Linked DNA regions of Homo sapiens: all the other regions are linked to region 4. The links are contacts of gene promoters, found by promoter capture Hi-C in blood cells and fetal thymus (Javierre and others, 2016). All regions are on one chromosome and are shown on one strand. Each heading gives the region's core, a stretch centred on a gene start or on the middle of the fragment in contact. The rest is flanking DNA. Distances are from core to core; before and after follow the strand shown. Region 1 overlaps PARL (presenilin associated rhomboid like). Region 2 has its middle 14 kb from the start of MIR4448. Region 3 overlaps ABCC5 (ATP binding cassette subfamily C member 5). Region 4 holds the start of PSMD2 (proteasome 26S subunit ubiquitin receptor, non-ATPase 2). Region 5 overlaps ABCC5 (ATP binding cassette subfamily C member 5). Region 6 overlaps ABCC5 (ATP binding cassette subfamily C member 5).

Evidence for each region. Contacts are between HindIII fragments. The CHiCAGO score rates a contact against its expected background, and 5 or more counts as called.
Region 1: a contact is called between a fragment that was not itself captured here and the fragment with the promoter of PSMD2 in region 4, in 3 of 17 cell types (M0 macrophages, M1 macrophages and erythroblasts). The highest score is 5.3, in M0 macrophages.
Region 2: a fragment that was not itself captured here is called in contact with the fragment with the promoter of PSMD2 in region 4 in 16 of 17 cell types (M2 macrophages, M1 macrophages, M0 macrophages and 13 more); the score reaches 24.9 in M2 macrophages.
Region 3: a fragment that was not itself captured here is called in contact with the fragment with the promoter of PSMD2 in region 4 in 6 of 17 cell types (endothelial precursors, M1 macrophages, M2 macrophages and 3 more); the score reaches 7.2 in endothelial precursors.
Region 5: a contact is called between a fragment that was not itself captured here and the fragment with the promoter of PSMD2 in region 4, in 3 of 17 cell types (M0 macrophages, M2 macrophages and M1 macrophages). The highest score is 6.3, in M0 macrophages.
Region 6: a fragment that was not itself captured here is called in contact with the fragment with the promoter of PSMD2 in region 4 in 4 of 17 cell types (M1 macrophages, endothelial precursors, M0 macrophages and 1 more); the score reaches 10.4 in M1 macrophages.

What each region holds. Positions count from the first base shown.
Region 1 is chr3:183,840,342-183,843,041 of GRCh38, forward strand. It overlaps PARL (presenilin associated rhomboid like), which reads right to left. Exons shown (of 10, transcript NM_018622.7): 6 at 1,957-2,106; 7 at 229-299. Among named protein-coding and RNA genes, the nearest start is that of MAP6D1, 16 kb to the left of the region's middle. The HindIII fragment of the contact is 311 bases long and covers 1,204-1,514 here.
Region 2 is chr3:183,899,232-183,901,931 of GRCh38, forward strand. It overlaps the pseudogene CYP2AB1P. Among named protein-coding and RNA genes, the nearest start is that of MIR4448, 14 kb to the left of the region's middle. The HindIII fragment of the contact is 4,315 bases long and covers 1-2,700 here.
Region 3 is chr3:184,012,686-184,015,385 of GRCh38, forward strand. ABCC5 (ATP binding cassette subfamily C member 5) reads right to left here. Exons shown (of 30, transcript NM_005688.4): 2 at 1,579-1,762. The coding sequence starts at 1,707. Among named protein-coding and RNA genes, the nearest start is that of ABCC5, 3.8 kb to the right of the region's middle. The HindIII fragment of the contact is 931 bases long and covers 939-1,869 here.
Region 4 is chr3:184,297,791-184,300,490 of GRCh38, forward strand. PSMD2 (proteasome 26S subunit ubiquitin receptor, non-ATPase 2) reads left to right here and starts at 1,451. Exons shown (of 21, transcript NM_002808.5): 1 at 1,451-1,611; 2 at 2,061-2,117; 3 at 2,490-2,654. The coding sequence starts at 1,477. RefSeq lists a silencer at 1,119-1,458. The HindIII fragment of the contact is 6,965 bases long and covers 1-2,700 here.
Region 5 is chr3:183,939,001-183,941,700 of GRCh38, forward strand. All of the region lies in intron 25 of ABCC5 (ATP binding cassette subfamily C member 5), which reads right to left. Among named protein-coding and RNA genes, the nearest start is that of MIR4448, 54 kb to the left of the region's middle. The HindIII fragment of the contact is 7,094 bases long and covers 1-2,700 here.
Region 6 is chr3:183,918,777-183,921,476 of GRCh38, forward strand. It overlaps ABCC5 (ATP binding cassette subfamily C member 5), which reads right to left. Exons shown (of 30, transcript NM_005688.4): 30 at 1,158-2,625. The coding sequence ends at 2,524. Among named protein-coding and RNA genes, the nearest start is that of MIR4448, 33 kb to the left of the region's middle. The HindIII fragment of the contact is 1,722 bases long and covers 518-2,239 here.

The DNA of each region.
Region 1 (2,700 bases), core at 109-2,608, 460 kb before region 4:
GGTTAAAAGCTATAGCCGGACATTTACAAAGCTTTACAAATGTATAAATTCTAAATTAGTCAACTGTATTGTTTCAATGTTAATTTCTTGGTTTCGATGTTAGTTAACAGTAGGGTGAAGGGTATATGAGAACCTCTTATCAATTTTACAACATTCTTCTAAGTCTAAACTTATTTCAAAGTAAATTTAAAAATTAAATTAAAAAAAATTTACAATAGAAATACTTACTGCACCAAGTGATGGTCCATATCTTCCTGTGGCAACTTTACCCACGTAACTGACAAAATTGGAAATAACACCTGAAAAACAAGTCACATTACAATAATTTAAGTGAGGTATAAAAATGGTTTACTTTTTTTTTTCTTTTCTTTTTTTTTTTTTTGAGACAGAGTTTCACTCTTTCGCCCCGGCTGCTGAAGTGCAGTGGTACAATTTTGGCTCACTGCAACCTGTGCCTACCGGGTTCAAGTTATTCTTGTCCCCCAGCCTCCTGAGTAGCTGGGATTACAGGCGTGCGGCACCACATCCAGCCATGAAAATGGTTTTCATTTCTGATTTCTACACAGATAAACAGTGTCGGGTTTCAATCTGGATCACTGTGAGGGTACGGGCATGAATACTTCTCCTGCCTATCATTTCAGCGACTTTACAGGGGATGAAAAGTCTGACCTGCTGCATGATCTGCTGAGCGACACGGTCATTCACTCCACTTCTCAGTTACCATTTTCCTCAACTATAACATGAAGACTCATTCCCAAGAGTATATTCTCTGGCTGTACTCCAGACACACGAAATCAGAATATCTGGGGTGGGACAACAGACTGGATGATCCCGTAAGTCTCTTTGGCTTCAGTGCCATTTGAGTCAACGTGGCTCATTTTTAAAAACCTCCTATGGAGCAGGAATTAATGTATCTGAAACAGACCCTCTGTAACTACAACATAACTAGTGCTTGGGAAAGAACTATACACTTATCTTACAAGCCAAACACAATGCTCAGCTTCTTTTTTTGAAGGACTAGATACACATAAGTATTCGATGAACACTAATTAAGCATCTACTCTGGGGCTTGTGGTAGATGCTTTTATGTAGTCCTTTCTTTAACCCCTTGTCATGAGGAGGTAAGTATCATGAGGTTTAGTCATTTTTGCAACATCACTCAGCTGGTAGTAGAAATAGGATCTGAACCTGGGTCTATCGCCAAGCTTAGTGTTTTTCACTACATCACAGCACAACTGCCAGATATACTGTTTCTAAATGTAGAGATTTTAGAAATTAATTTTTATATTGTATTAAGTAAGTACATTTTACAAACAGAGAGGTAAGTAAAATTTGACCAACTGTCACGTTAGCAGCATCTAGGGACCTGGATTCATGCATGAGAATTTCCTAACTGAAATAAGAAACGATACCATCTTCAAGACCATGGCTAGGAAGTGGTTCCCTGCTACATTCTTGCAAAGAAGACAGAACAAACTCACTCTTGACAATCATATTGTATAGCTCTGATTTAAAGCTTTCTGTGAACTGAACACACTGGGGGAAATGAGCTTGCTTAAGGTTATTTAACAAAGACCCAGGAGATTGAGGCAGCCGGGAAGTCTGGGAACCACTATCTATAAAATGGAGGGCCTAAACTAATGAAATCAAGGCCCGATGAGATTACAAAAATGACATGCTTAAATTCTACACTAACCCTTACTTAACGCCTGTTTATCCTAACTTAAAATTAAACATACCCACATAATTCATATGTAAGAAGAAATCAGCAAAATGAACAGAAAAGGCAACATCTCCACCAATCTGTGGCTCCCTTCTCTACATACACTGTGAGAAACAAATATGTTCTGAGCACTCACTACGTGTAGAATATGGCAGTAATCATTCCCTTTGTCCGTTCTGCAGATAGCTTAGAGTGCTTATACTCTCAAAGGCCCCGAGATTAAAGCATATTACCTGCAGATAGGTACACTGCCATGAACTGCTCTTGACCCAGAATGTTCACTATGCTGGAAGAGAAGCTCCACAAAACATACATATTTGCTGCCATGTGAAATAAGGAGAAATGACTGAATGTTGACAGCAACATTGGAGAACAAAGGACCTCTACAAGAGAGAGAAACATAGTCTGGTAATCATGAAACACACAGCCAATAAAAATTATCCATTTTAAACTTTTAAAATTAGGCCGGACGCAGTGGCTCACGCCTGTAATCCCAGCACTTTGGGAGGCCAAGGCAGGCGGATCACTAAGTCAGGAGTTCAAGACCAGCCTGGCCAACATAGTCAAACCCCATCTCTATTAAAAATATAAAAATTAGCCAGGTGTGGTGGCGCACGTTTGTAATTCCTGCTACTCGGAAGGCTGAGGCGGGAGAATCACTTGGACCCAGGAGGTAGAGTTTGCAGTGAGCCAAGATTGAGCCACTGCACTCCAGCCTGGGCCATAGAGCGAGACTCTATCTCAAAAAAAAAAAAAAAAAAAAAATTTATGAAACAAACATGGAAAACAAAAACAGCTATTTTTAAGACTTTTTTTTTTTTTTGGAGAGAGTCTTGCTCTGTCGCCCCAGGCTGGAGTGCAGTGGCACGATCTTGGCTCACTGCAGCCTCAACTTCCTCAAGTTGAGGCTCAAGGGCTCAAGTGATCCTCCCACCTCAGCCTCCTGAGTAGCTGGGACCACAGGTACATACCCCATG
Region 2 (2,700 bases), core at 6-2,505, 400 kb before region 4:
CCACTGTACTCCAGGGCAGTACTCGGGGCAGAGCCAAAGCTCCTTTCCGAGGAAAGTCTCAGGGCTCCCGCCACCACCTCTATGTACAGAGGCATCACCCTGCACCAGGGCACCAAGATGAGTCGCTCTGTTTCATTTTCATTAAAATGGCAACCTCACCACCTACACATGTTGGTATGTTACCTGTTGCGGGAAGTCAGGGACCCCGAACGGAGGGACTGGCTGAAGCCATGGCAGAAGAACCTGGATTGTGAAGATTTCACGGACATTTATTAGTTCCCCAAATTAATACTTTTATAATTTCTTATGCCTGTCTTTACTGCAATCTCTAAACATAAATTGTAAAGATTTCATGGACACTTATCACTTCCCCAGTCAATACCCTTGTGATTTCCTATGCCTGTCTTTACTTTAATCTCTTAATCCTGTCAGCTGAGGAGGATGTATGTTGCCTCAGAACCTTGTGATAATTGCATTAACTGCACAAATTGTAGAGCATGTCTGTTTAAATGATATGAAATCTGGGCACCTTGAAAAAAGAACAGGATAACAGCAATTGTTCAGGGAATACGAGAGATAACCTTAAACTCTGACCACCGATGAGCCGGGTGGAACAGAGCCATATTTCTCTTCTTTCAAAAGCAAATGGGAGAAATATCACTGAATTCTTTTTCTCAGCAAGGAAGATCCCTGGGAAAGAGAATACGCGCCTGGGGGTATAGGCCTATAAACGGCCCCCCTAGGTGTGCCTGTCTCTTATGGTCGAGGCTATAGGGGTGAAATAGACCCCAGTCTCCCATAGCACTCCCAGGCTTATTAGGAAGAGGAAATTCCCGCCTAATAAATTTTTGGTCAGACCAGTTGCTCTCAAAACCCTGTCTCCTGATAAGATGTTATCAATGACCATGGTGCCCGAAACTTCATTAGCAATTTTAATTTTGCCCCAGTCCTGTGGTCCTGTGATCTTGCCCTGCCTCCACTTGCCTTGTGATATTCCATTACCTTGTAAAGTACTTGATGTCTGTGACCCACACCTATTTGCACATTCCCTCCCCTTTTGAAAATCCCTAATAAAAACTTGCTGGTTTTTGCGGCTTGTGGGGCATCACGGAACCCACCGACACGTGATGTCTCCCCCAGACGCCCAGCTTTAAAATTTCTCTCTTTTGTACTCGTCCCTTTATTTCTCAAGCTGGCCGACGCTTAGGAAAAACAGAAAAGAACCTACGTGACTATCGGGACAGATTCCCCGATAGTTACCCCAGTTAGCCTTGACTCCCAGGATACACACCTTTGTGTAATCCCCTCCCCTTGAGGATAGGATGGATTTAGTAACTCACTTCTAACAAATAGAAAATGGGCCAGACGCAGTGGCTCATGCATGGAATCCCAGCACTCTGGAAGGCCAAGGTGGGAGGATCACTTGAGCCCAGGAATTTGAGACCAACCTAGGCAACATGGTGAAACCCCATCTCTACCAAAAATTTAAAAATTAGCCCATTGTGGTGGCACAATGTGGTGCCTGTAGTTCCAGCTACTCAGGCAGCTGAGGTGGGAGGATCACCCAAGCCTGGGAGGTTGAGGCTGCAGTGAGCTATTATTGTGTCCCTTCACTCCAACCCAGGCAACAGAGGGAGACACTGTCTCAAACCAACAACAACAACAACAACAAACCCAACAAATAGAATATGGCAAAAGCGGCCGGGTGCGGTGGCTCACACCCGTAATCCCAGCACCTTGGTAGGCTGAGGCAGGCCAATCACTCGAGGTCAGGAGTTCAAGACCAGCCTGGCCAACATGGTAAACTCCATCTCTACTAAAATATACAAAAATTAGCCAGGCATGGTGGCACATGCCTGTAATCACAGCTACTCGGGAGGCTGAGGCAGGAGAATTGCTTGAGCCCAGGAGGCAGAGGCTGCACTGAGCTGAGATTGCACCACTGCACTCCAGCCTGGGGTGACAGAGCGAGATTCTGTCTCAAAAAAAAAGAATATGGCAAAAGCAATGGGATATCACATCTAAGATTAGGTTACAAAAAGACCATTGCTTCTATTTTGGGTGCCCTCTTGCTTGCTCTCTCTGATGGGGTTCAGCTGCCATGTTTTGAGCTACCCTATGCAGAGGCCCATGTGTCAAGGAACTGAAGGTCTCCAGCCAACAGTTCATGAGCAACCGGGTCCTGAAGACCTCCATGTAAGTGAGCTTGAAGTGGAGCCTCCCCTAGGGGAGTCTTCAGGTGACACTGTAGCCCCAACAACAACTTGATGGTAACCTCATGAGAGACCTTGAGTCAGAGGCATCCAGCTGAGCCACACCCATTTTCCTAACCCTCAGAAACTGTGAAATGATAAATGCTGTTGTTCTAAGCCACTAAGTTTTGGGGTAATTTGTTACACAGTAAGATAGGTAAGTAATTCAACATCTGTCATCTAGGATCTGCAAGGCTCCGTCAACAATACAGAGCACCATTGTACCGAATGACACCGTGGGCACAAAGCCCTCAGCACACAGCAAGCCTGGGCAAAGAGCAGGTGTCCTCATGTTATTGTCCAGCTCACGTCAAAAATCTGCTCGGAAAGCTATCTCAAGCTGGATCACCAGAGAGCTATCATCTTCAACTATGCTCGAGACCAACCTGGGCAACATGGTGAAACTGCATCTCTGCAAAAAAACAAAGCAACAACAACAACAAAAACA
Region 3 (2,700 bases), core at 154-2,653, 290 kb before region 4:
AATGGATAGATGTTTAATCAACATAAGGTCTAGACAAAAGGACATGAGGAAGTTATAAAACTGGCACCACGAGAAGCATTTGACACTGATTACATTAAGCCTGTTTCTCTGAAGTTAAACCTGAATGGAAAAGCATTCTATAATACACAGTAGGGTACAGAAAAGACTCATTAGCAAGAAAATGTTCATTAATAAAGCAATGGCTTTAACACAACCAAAGAGGGAAAGGTAGTATCAGGCTAAGGAAAGGCCAGTGTCAGCTGCAAAGTCCATTATCTTTCTCAAATTTTCACATAACAAATACACCAACAAAAACCTCAACTTCCTAAACCTAGTCCATTCTGCCTTATTAGGTACTTTTGTAAGAAAAGGTATAATGCTTTTTTTCCTCAGGAAAAAGAATATTTTCTCGAGGTAAAAACGCATCTTCATTATTTCCCTTGGAGGAAATTAGATTATTATCTAAAGACTGCTTAACTTATGAATTCGCTTGAAAAACATACTGATAATCCCACAACTATCTAGAATTGTTCTGAAATCTGAGTCTCTCCAAAGGATTCACATTTTATTTTATTTTTTATTTTTTTGGAGACGGAGTCTCACTCTGTTGCCCAGGCTGGAGTGCAGTGGCGTGATCTTGGCTCACTGCAACCTCTGCCTCCTGGATTCAAGCAATTCTCCTGCCTCCCTCCTGAGTAGCTGGGAGTACAGGTGCCCACCACCACACCTCACTAATTTTTGTATTTTTAGCAGAGACAGGGTTTCACCGTGTTGGCCAGGCTGGTCTCAAACTCCTGACCTCAAGTGACCCACCCACCTCAACCTCCCAAAGTGCTGGGATTACAAGCATGAGCCACTGTGCCTGGCCAGGTTCACATTTTAAACACACATGACAGAAAGTAGAAGAAAACACCAATTTTGTTTAGGTACATGAATGAAGCTTAATTGGCTTTATATTCCCTGTCATTGACCCCATGACCCCCTCCCCCTCAATAAGTTGTCTTCTGTTAAGTATAGCCTTTTCAGAAGGCACCAACATAGAATAAAAGTGAAAAAGAGGAGAATGCTCAGAACAGACCGGGTGAGAGGGTGACAGCCAGCCTCTCTTCCACTTATTGAGTGCTTACTATGGACCAGAGACTTATCAATAACCATAAATTCTTAACAGTAACCTAAAGCCAATAAAGAAAAACACATTTTTTTTTGAGACTGAGTCTCGCTCTATCGCCCAGGCTGGAGTGCAGTGGCATGATCCCAGCTCACTGCAACCTCCGCCTCTTGGGTTCAAGCGATTCTCGTGCCTCAGCCTCGCAAGTATCTGGGATTATAGGCGCCCGCCACCACGCCTGGCTAATTTTTGTACTTTTAGTAGAGACAGGTTTTCACCATGTTGGTCAGGCTGGTCTCGAACTCCTGACCTCAGATGATCCACCCGCCTCAGCCTCCCAAAGTGCTGGGTTTATAGGCGTGAGCCACCGCGCCCGGCCAAAAAATAAGTTTCTAAATTACCCATTATACGAAAAAAGATGTGTTTTAGTACAACAAGCAGGTAAGAGACTCTTAGGAAAGGAAACTGACCGGTCGAGTTCTCCTGAACTTGGAATCTTCACGGTCTCTGTGCGTCCCAGAAGTGCTGGTTCTCTCCCTCACACTTCTATACCCAGGACTGGGGATGATATACTCTTTTCCTATGTCGATATCCTTCATCTTCTCTGAGTGGAGGTTCCAGGGCTCACAGACTGTTAGTTTCACATCAGAATTCCTGAAATTAAAAATTCATCAAGAAATAGATTATTTCCTAAACAGTACTTAACCATAAGCTCAAGTGCCTTAAAAATAGGAAAAAAAAAAAAAAGGCAAAAGTACTAAAGCTTTCTACTGTTATAGCTACAAAAATTAATTTTCAAAAAAAGTTCAAAGATTTTGATTTCATTTTTTTAAAGAAAAAGATTCAGTATAAGAGAATCAAGAAAAATTACCTTCTCCCAACTCTAAGGGAAAAAAAATTAGAAACAGTAAACACACTAGTAAAGAGACACCCATTCTCTTCAACTAAGCTCAAATCCAGTGTATACAATAGAAAGGTTGGTTTTTTTTTTAAAGACTTTCTAGAAACAATTTCAGTTTGTCCCAAGTATTAAAAACTCCACAATTTTAAAGTGGACATCATTTCTTCTACTAAATTTTACTAAATAAAAACTTACCAAACACTTATTCTACCAATGATATATTCCATCTCTGCCTTTTTATAATTAACTAATGGGTTAGCTGGTGTTATTTTAAAGCTCCATGAAGTTATCCAGTTAAAACAATGTTATAACTTAACTTCAAACACAAATTCCCTGGGTACTGAAAATGTTCTAAAACTAGATAGTGGTAATGGTTGCACAATGCAGTGAATACATTGAAAAAAAACACACTGAATTTATACTTTAAAAGAGTGAATTTCATGTCATATAAATCCTATGGCAACAAAGCTGTTAGTAAAAAACAATAACAAAAACAAATTCTCCACCCTGTATTACTAAGTCTTACCTAGTTTTTACCTGAAACTCTATTCTAAACCACTGCTTGCCTGGCTAAGTCTAATCAATATGCTGTATCAACTCAGGTCACTTAAAAACAAAAAACACATACATACTTCTCCAAAATGTTTCCCCCCTCTAAGAAGGGTCACAGCCTCCCAGAGACAAGCTGAGA
Region 4 (2,700 bases), core at 201-2,700:
AAATACAAAAATTAGCCGGGCGTGGTGGCACAAAAATTCAACAGTCCATAACTGTTCTGCCTATTCTATCTCTGGCTTCACGGTGTCCATACATTTTCATGCTTTCTTCAGTCATCTGTAGAGGGATTTTTTTCTAAAACTCCTCTTTATCCAGCTACTCGGGAGGCTGAGGCAGGAGAATCACTTGCACCCGGGAGGCGAAGGTTGTGGTGAGCCGAGATTGCGCCATTGCACTCCAGCCTGGGCAACAGGAGAGAAACACTATCTCAAAACAAATAAATAAAATAAAAAATAAATCCTCATTTTACTACTTGATATGATCTTCTCTGTAAAATGGACCTAACCCTACCAATCTCAAAAGATTGTAAGAAGTGCATGGAATCACTCGAAAGCAGTCCTGACATAAGCGCGTCAGTCACACGCCTCTAAGGCTTCACAGGGAAAGACGAGAAGATAGAGGACGAAGACCTTGTCTTGTTCTGCTTTTAGCTCCAGAACTTGGCGGGGAGCACAGGGCTTTATTGATCGATGTCAACTCCACCTGGCTCCCCAAAGTATTTAAAATGGTAGCCACGGGAATAGCAGAGTACTCTCTTTCAACTGGGGAGGAATATCAAATGAGGTTAATAGGCCGGGCGCGGTGGTTCACACCTGTAATTACAGCTCTTTGGGAGGCTGAGGCGGGCAGATCACTTGAGGTCAGGAGTTCGAGACCAGCCTGGCCAACATAGTGAAACCCCCGTCTCTACTAAAAAATACAAAAATTAGCTGGGCGTGGTGGCGGGCGCCTGTAATCCCAGCTACTCGGGAGGTTGAGGCACGAGAATCACTTGAACCTGGTAGGCGGAGTTTGCAGTGAGCCGAGATCGCGCCACTGCACTCCAGCCTGGGCGAGAGAGCGAGCCTCCTTCTCAAAAGCAACAACAACAACAAAACCAAATGAGGTTAATATTCCACAGTGGTGTGGGGCTAGACACAGTTACACAGACTTTATACAGGCGGCAATCAAGCGTCCTGGACGTCAAGAAATCTAGTTTGTCTGTCGCGCCACGCAGTCAACTGGAGTGTCACTGTGGGTTCTATTTACACCGTTATGAGAAAAACCTGTGGCGGAGTAAAACTCGGTAACTCCGCTCGCAGACCGCCCATCTACAGCAGTGAGCGAACCCAAACCCCACACGGCCAAGTCCCGCGGGTTTCAGGAAACTCCGAAGAGGTCGGGGGCCAGGGGCGACTATGGCGCGGGGGAGGCTGGGAATTGTAGTCTCCACCTGCCTCCGAGGGCGGGGTCCGAGGGCGGGGCTCTCAGGCCGAGGGGGTGGGTGGGTCGCCGAGCGCCCCGGCTCGCCCCGGCGTTTCCGGTCGCAGGCGGGCTCTGGAGGAGGAGGGGCGCCGCGACCGACGCGCGCGAGTTGGTCTGGGAAAAAGGGCGGTGCGAGCGGGTGCGCGCGCAGCGGGCCGGCAGTGGCGGCGGAGATGGAGGAGGGAGGCCGGGACAAGGCGCCGGTGCAGCCCCAGCAGTCTCCAGCGGCGGCCCCCGGCGGCACGGACGAGAAGCCGAGCGGCAAGGAGCGGCGGGATGCCGGGGACAAGGACAAAGAACAGGAGCTGGTGAGGCGCGACCCCGAGAGTCGGCGAAGGAGGCTGCGGGGCTGAGTCACGGCGGCTCCGCAGGCCTCAGGCCCGACACCCAACTACCCCACCGCGCCAGGGAGAGGGCGGTTGGGGCGACCCTCGGGACTCCCGGCACCTTGCCTCTCTGCTCCTCATTCTCCGTTCCGCGCTGTCACCTCCGCCGTCCCCACCAACCCTCACCACCGCCGCGTGAAGTGGACTCGGGCAGGTCATTGTCACCTCCGTTTCCTAGAGTGGCATTCAAGTAGAGCCTGATTCAGAACCCAGGCTGATTTCTCACCAGGGCTTCCCATTCCCACTCGGTTTCCTTGTCCACCTGGCCCCTCCTAAGGAGGCAGGCTTATTCTTCACCTGCCCCGGGTAAGTGGGAGGAGGACGTCTTTGGGATTCCTTCTCTTCATGAGCTGCTTCTCCCAACCCTCCAGTCTGAAGAGGATAAACAGCTTCAAGATGAACTGGAGATGCTCGTGGAACGACTAGGGGTGAGTCACGATGTTAACATGATTCGGTGCATGTTTGGATCTTTCCCACTTGTTTTATTCTTTTTTGAGGCAACTGCTATGTACGGTGGACTGTATTTTAGGGTCAGTGTTATGATGATGTTGGGAGGCAGGAGAGTTACAAAGGGTATTTGTACAGTTTTGCAGCTTTCTCTTGTGGGAGAAGCAGAGTTCTTACCTCTTAACTTGGGTCATTTGTTTTTGTGCCAGGCAGGGTGCAGGGAGTTGAGGAATCACAGATGAATGAATAAGACACAGCATTTCCTTGGAGGAGTTGTTAAGTTAAATATCTCTGTATTATGACTTGAAGGGGTGTGACTCCTTTTTGTCTGAGCCCTGTCGTCTCTTGATCAGGAGAAGGATACATCCCTGTATCGACCAGCGCTGGAGGAATTGCGAAGGCAGATTCGTTCTTCTACAACTTCCATGACTTCAGTGCCCAAGCCTCTCAAATTTCTGCGTCCACACTATGGCAAACTGAAGGAAATCTATGAGAACATGGCCCCTGGGGAGAATAAGGTAAAACTGTTTCAAACCTGGTGGAGGCCTAGTTTAGGAATTCCTT
Region 5 (2,700 bases), core at 195-2,694, 360 kb before region 4:
AGTTTACATAAGTAATACGAGATGACATCATCAATCTCCCATAATCTCACTTCTATCATTTTAGGCACACTTCCTTTCGGTCTTTCCTCAGAGTTGAGATCATATCAGAAATGCAATATTGTAATTGCTTTTTTCACTTAACACTGCATTGGCCGGGCACGGTGGCTCATGCCTGTAATCCCAGCACTTTGGGAGGCTGAGGCGGGCAGATCACCTGAGGTCAGGAGTTCGAGACCAACCTGGCCAACATGGTGAAACCCTGTCTCTACTATAAATACAAAAATTAGCTGGGCAAGATGGCGAGTGCCTGTAATCCCAGGTACTTGGGAAGCTAAGGCAGGAGAATCACTTGAACCTGGGAGGCGGAGGTTGCAGTGAGCCAAGATCGTATCATTGCACTCCAGCCTGGGCGACAGAACGAGACTCTGTTTCAAACAAAACAAAACAAAAGCATTGTATAACACTCAGTCAACCATCTTTTAAAAAAATTTTCAAGATAAAATTTTAGTGGTTGCATTCCATCATGTGCATGTATTCTTGTTCAGCCAGCCCTCTAAGGGTCAACATTTAGTTTATGTAAAACTTATAATAATGTTATGTCCTATTATCTTAGTGCTGAAACTTTACTGCCACCTCAGACAATTTCCTTGGGAAAGAATCTTAGAACTGAAATTACTGTGTCAAAGGATATAAACATTTAAAAGGTGCTCTCTCTACAGAGCCAAAAAGAAAAGAAGTTTGCCATAGTCCTGTCTACCTTTCTGCAACTTGGTTCCATGGTTTAGATTTAGAACTACAGGGTTTTAGCTGTTGAATCACTTTTCCTTGGCTGTACGCCTGGTTCTTGACCCTCCTACCTTTCTCGTGCCACCATGTCATGAAAGACCTCTTGTGAGGGCCTCATCGAGATCACCACGATGCTGTCTCTTCAGCACTCATGGAGGGCGCAAACAGCCTGCCTTGCCCCAGTGTCTACAGCCACGACCCCACTGTCGGGATCTACCCCCTGGGCATACCTCTGTCTAACAGCCTAATGGGAACCTGAAAAACACCCATAAGACTTGGAAGAAGTAACGCCCAGGAAACTTGGAAAAAGCTGTATTAGGACCCATCTTCCTAATGCAACAATCCTCACATCCTTCTACCAGAAACGAGTTAGGAAACCTGGTCCGTCTAGCAGGATAGTTCTCCTCCTAGAAATGAGTGACTCCAGGCCGGTGGGCGCAGCGGTTCACACCTGTAATCCCAGCACTTTGGGAGGCCAAGGTGGGTGGATTACTTGAGGCCAGGAGTTTGAGACCAGCCTGGCAAACATGGCAAAACCCTGTCTCTACTAAAAAATACAAAAAAAAAAAAAAATTAGCTGGGCATGGTGGCATGTGCCTGTAATCCCAGCTACTCCAGAGCCGAGATTGCACCACTGCACTCTAGCCTGGGCAACAGACTGAGACTCTGTCTCAGGAAAAAAAAAAAAAAAAAAAAAAAAAATGAATGACTCTGTTCAGGGTTGGGGGACTCAGTTACTGGCCCCTTTCCCAGATAGGAGGGGAGGAGACATTCCCTCTGGGCCGAGGCAGGGCTTTAAGATCTAAGCTAAGGAAGGAATGGTGCCCGAAACAATGGGTCAAGTTGTTCCAGTTTAACAAAAGGTGCCTAGGTTTGGACCACCTGGACTGGAAGACTTTAGAGTCCTCTGAATCTGACTACCTTTGCACTGATGGAATGTGCTGGTAAGAAAGGCAGTGAAGTCCTCAAGATGGTGTCCTTGACTGACATGACCACAGGAGAGTTTCCAAGTTACCCGTGAAACTTGGAAGAAGCCCTATTAGAACCGGAGTGTAAATCAGGTTATTATTATTATTATTATTATTATTTGAGATGGAGTTTCGCTCTTGTTGCTCAGGCTGGAGGGCAATAGCGCAATCTCAGCTCACTGCAACCTCCGCCTCCTGGGTTCAAGAGATTCTCCTGCTTCAGCCTCCCGAGTAGCTGGAATTACAGGCATCCACCACCACGCCCAGCTAACTTTCTGTATTTTTAGTAGAGATGAGGTTTCACCATGTTGGCCAGGCTGGTCTTGAACTCCTGACGTCAGGTGATCCACCAGCCTGGGCCTCCCAGAGTGCTGGGATTACAGGCGTGAGCCACTGCACCTGGCCACTATGTTCTTTTTCTTGTTTCTCTTCTGTCACTAACTACTGTTTAATGAAGTTGTGGTGCTTGTTTTGGCCTATCTCACCTGTGTTAAAGGGAAATCATAACAAAGGACATCAGTCAGCTTTCAGGGGAGCAGTGTACCCCTGGGGACGAATGCAGCAGATGGGCTCAAGGGAGAGAACAGTAAAAAGGCTTGGGGAGAGTCACCCTGCTTGGCTAAAGATTCCCTTCCAGCATGAAAGACCTGGAGCAATGTCTTGTTTTGACGTGAAGTAATTCCCTCAAACAGAAAGCAGGAAATGGCTTTTTCCTTTTCTTCCTTAGAAAGTTCTTTAAAATCAATTGGCCAGAAAAGACAAAAGGTTTTTTTTTTTTTAATGGCAAGGAAAAAAGCTAGAAGAGTTTTGATGCCAAAGAAGCATGGAGCCTAGAAAACTAATGAAAACTGAATCAAAGATACCTCTTATACAAGGATAAAAAGGACAGTAAAAGAAGACAAGTTCAGTCTTTGGAATGCAATTCAGGAACGAAAGTGAGAAAAAA
Region 6 (2,700 bases), core at 129-2,628, 380 kb before region 4:
TCCACAGACCACACTGCTTTGCTACAGGAGTTTGGTTACTGTGGTAAACTGCTGAAAGTCTGGGCTTGTTTCTTACACCTGTTAGCCTACTCTACTTGGCAACAGAGAATTATGAGCTGGGAAAGCACAAAATGGCAAAATGGAAATTGCTTTTAAAAATCCAATTTAGGCTGGGCACAGTGACTCATGCCTGTAATCCCAGCAGTTTGAAGGGTCTCGTTCTGCTGACCTTGTTACCTTCTTGGAAGATAAATCTAGTGCCTCAGTAAAAGTGGTTACCGTTTAGATTGGAGCTGCCCAACAGAACTTCCTGCAATGATCGACACGTCCTATATCTGCACTGTACATTACTATGTTGTACAGGTCGCATACAGCTACTGAGCGCTTGAAATGTGACACTCTAGGAACTAAAGTTTTAACTTTAGAGTCAAGCTCCTGGGTTCTCACGACAGCACAGGTACTTTAGAAAAATTAGTATAATTTCTACTGATGGCCAGCAAACTAATACCAGTTTAAAAGCTTTCTTGGCTGCATTCAACACAATATAGTCAGAAACTTTAGAATGAGTACCCTTTGCTTTTTTTTTTTTTTTTTTTTTGAGACGGAGTCTCACTCTGTCGCCCAGGCTGGTGTGCAATGGCACGATCTCAGCTCACCGCAACCTCCACCTCCGAGTTCAAGTGATTCTCCTGCCTCAGCCTCCTGAGTAGCTGGGACTACAGGTGCCTGCCACCACACCAGGCTAATTTTTGTATTTTTAGTAGAGACGGGGTTACTAATTTTCAATGGGTGAATCTGAATGAATTGGCTGAAAGGGTAATTATATTGTTTGAATTGCTAAGAATCCTCGATAAACTATTCATTTTAAATACATCTCACCACGACCACCCACCTCACCACAACCACTCACCTTTCCACTCCCCACCCTCTTATGGGCAGCCAAGGAGCTTTATTTGGGGACCATGTCCAGGAACACAGGCAGCGGGACTAAGGCCCACAGAGATGATTCCAGGTGTTCAGGGCCCCATGGCCCTTGCAACCAACCAGCTTTGCTACCAGTCCTTCCCAGATGCAACTCCATTGCTGGATATGCAGGTCCCAAAGCCATTCAGGGATATCTCACTCCCTTCCCAGAGAATTGTTTGATACACGAAGAGTTTTACAAAATCCAAAATAATTTTATTCACATTTTCAGATTTTTGCTTCCACAAGGTGTTCAGCAAACATGCTAAGGCGACAGAATGTCTAGTTGGTCACGACATGCAACGCTGACCATTCAATTGATGACAGCAGTGACCACGCCCACCTGAGCTACCAGCCCCACAGCACAAAGGGGGTTTGCGGGAACACACCAAACCACACAGCAACCAGCAACCTGAGGTAGGTCTCTTTACAGTACAAAAACTTCTACGCCAGTGTGAGACACTGATTAGCAAGAGCTGCTTAAAGTTGCAGACTTTGAGGGGAGAGAGAGAGAGAGACTGTGCGACGACTGCGGTGAGAAAGGAAAACAGACCCACGAAATCCTGAGCCCTGCCACTGAACTGTGGAGGTGTGGGAATAGGCAAATGAAAAAGTGCCACCTCAAAAAGCAGCAGTTGGCTCCAGGGCTTGGAACCAACAGGTCTTGGAGCTGGAGAGCTCTGTGCAGTGGCCAGCCATAGGAACCTGAGGCAGTGGGACTCTCTGTGGATAGACTGATTCTTGTTTAGAAACAACAGCAAAAAGAAGAAGGCAGGAAAGAAACTCCCCGGCTCGGAGGAATGTCTCTGTGATCCCCATTCTTGATGGAGGGAGTGAAAAGGGGCCTGGGCTTCGCCCCGCTGCTCTCCTGACAGAAACAGTAAGTGACACCAGGACAGAAGGCAGGAGCCCTGAGAACTCACGGCGCTCTGCATGGTCTCCAGCCGCCCACCCGTCTCCAGCCACCCCTGGAGCGGCCGTGGGGAGGCGGCAGAGGGGGCTGTCGGAGGGCCCACTATTGCCACACGTCTTCCTTTGGACACCCAGAAAACCTGGCACCGTGAAACCACCAGCTAGAGAAGAATGAAATGCTACTCTTCCTACAGTCTAATAGCAAAACCAGATCTCTAGTACAGCAAACTGTACAAAAATGATAGAAAGGAATATGCACTGTTATTAGCACAGTGCTTATTTTAATATAAAATAAACAGCTTACATTTTCACTGTAAATATAGGCTATGTACAGAATTATATATAGATATAGCTACACGTATAAAGCTTCATTATAGGCCTCTGATACAATTATAATAACGGTTCCCTGAACCTTTTAGAGTGCAATTAAGAACAAAAACTAAATTTTGTTTACATGAATATGGAATAAATACAATAATCAAAATATGACTCTCCCTAAAAGTGAAACACACAAGCCAATCCGGAACTGCTGTGCGAAAGATAAAATCGAGAAAGGCAAGGTTTCGGTAGGAGGACGCGATGAGGGGCCCGCCCCAGGCAGGGAATGGCAATGCTCTAAAGAAAAGAGACTTCGTCAACAGGGAGGAGTCAGCCCTTGACAGCGACCTTGTTCTCTGCAGCAGCAAACATGGCATAGAATCGGGAACTGTCGTTGGACAGAAGGACCGATGGGGTGTCAAACTCCACCACCTGCAAAAGAAGGAGACGCCGTCAGGACACAGCTCTGGGTCATGCAGGGTGATTCAGAGGATCCACGGCTCAGTA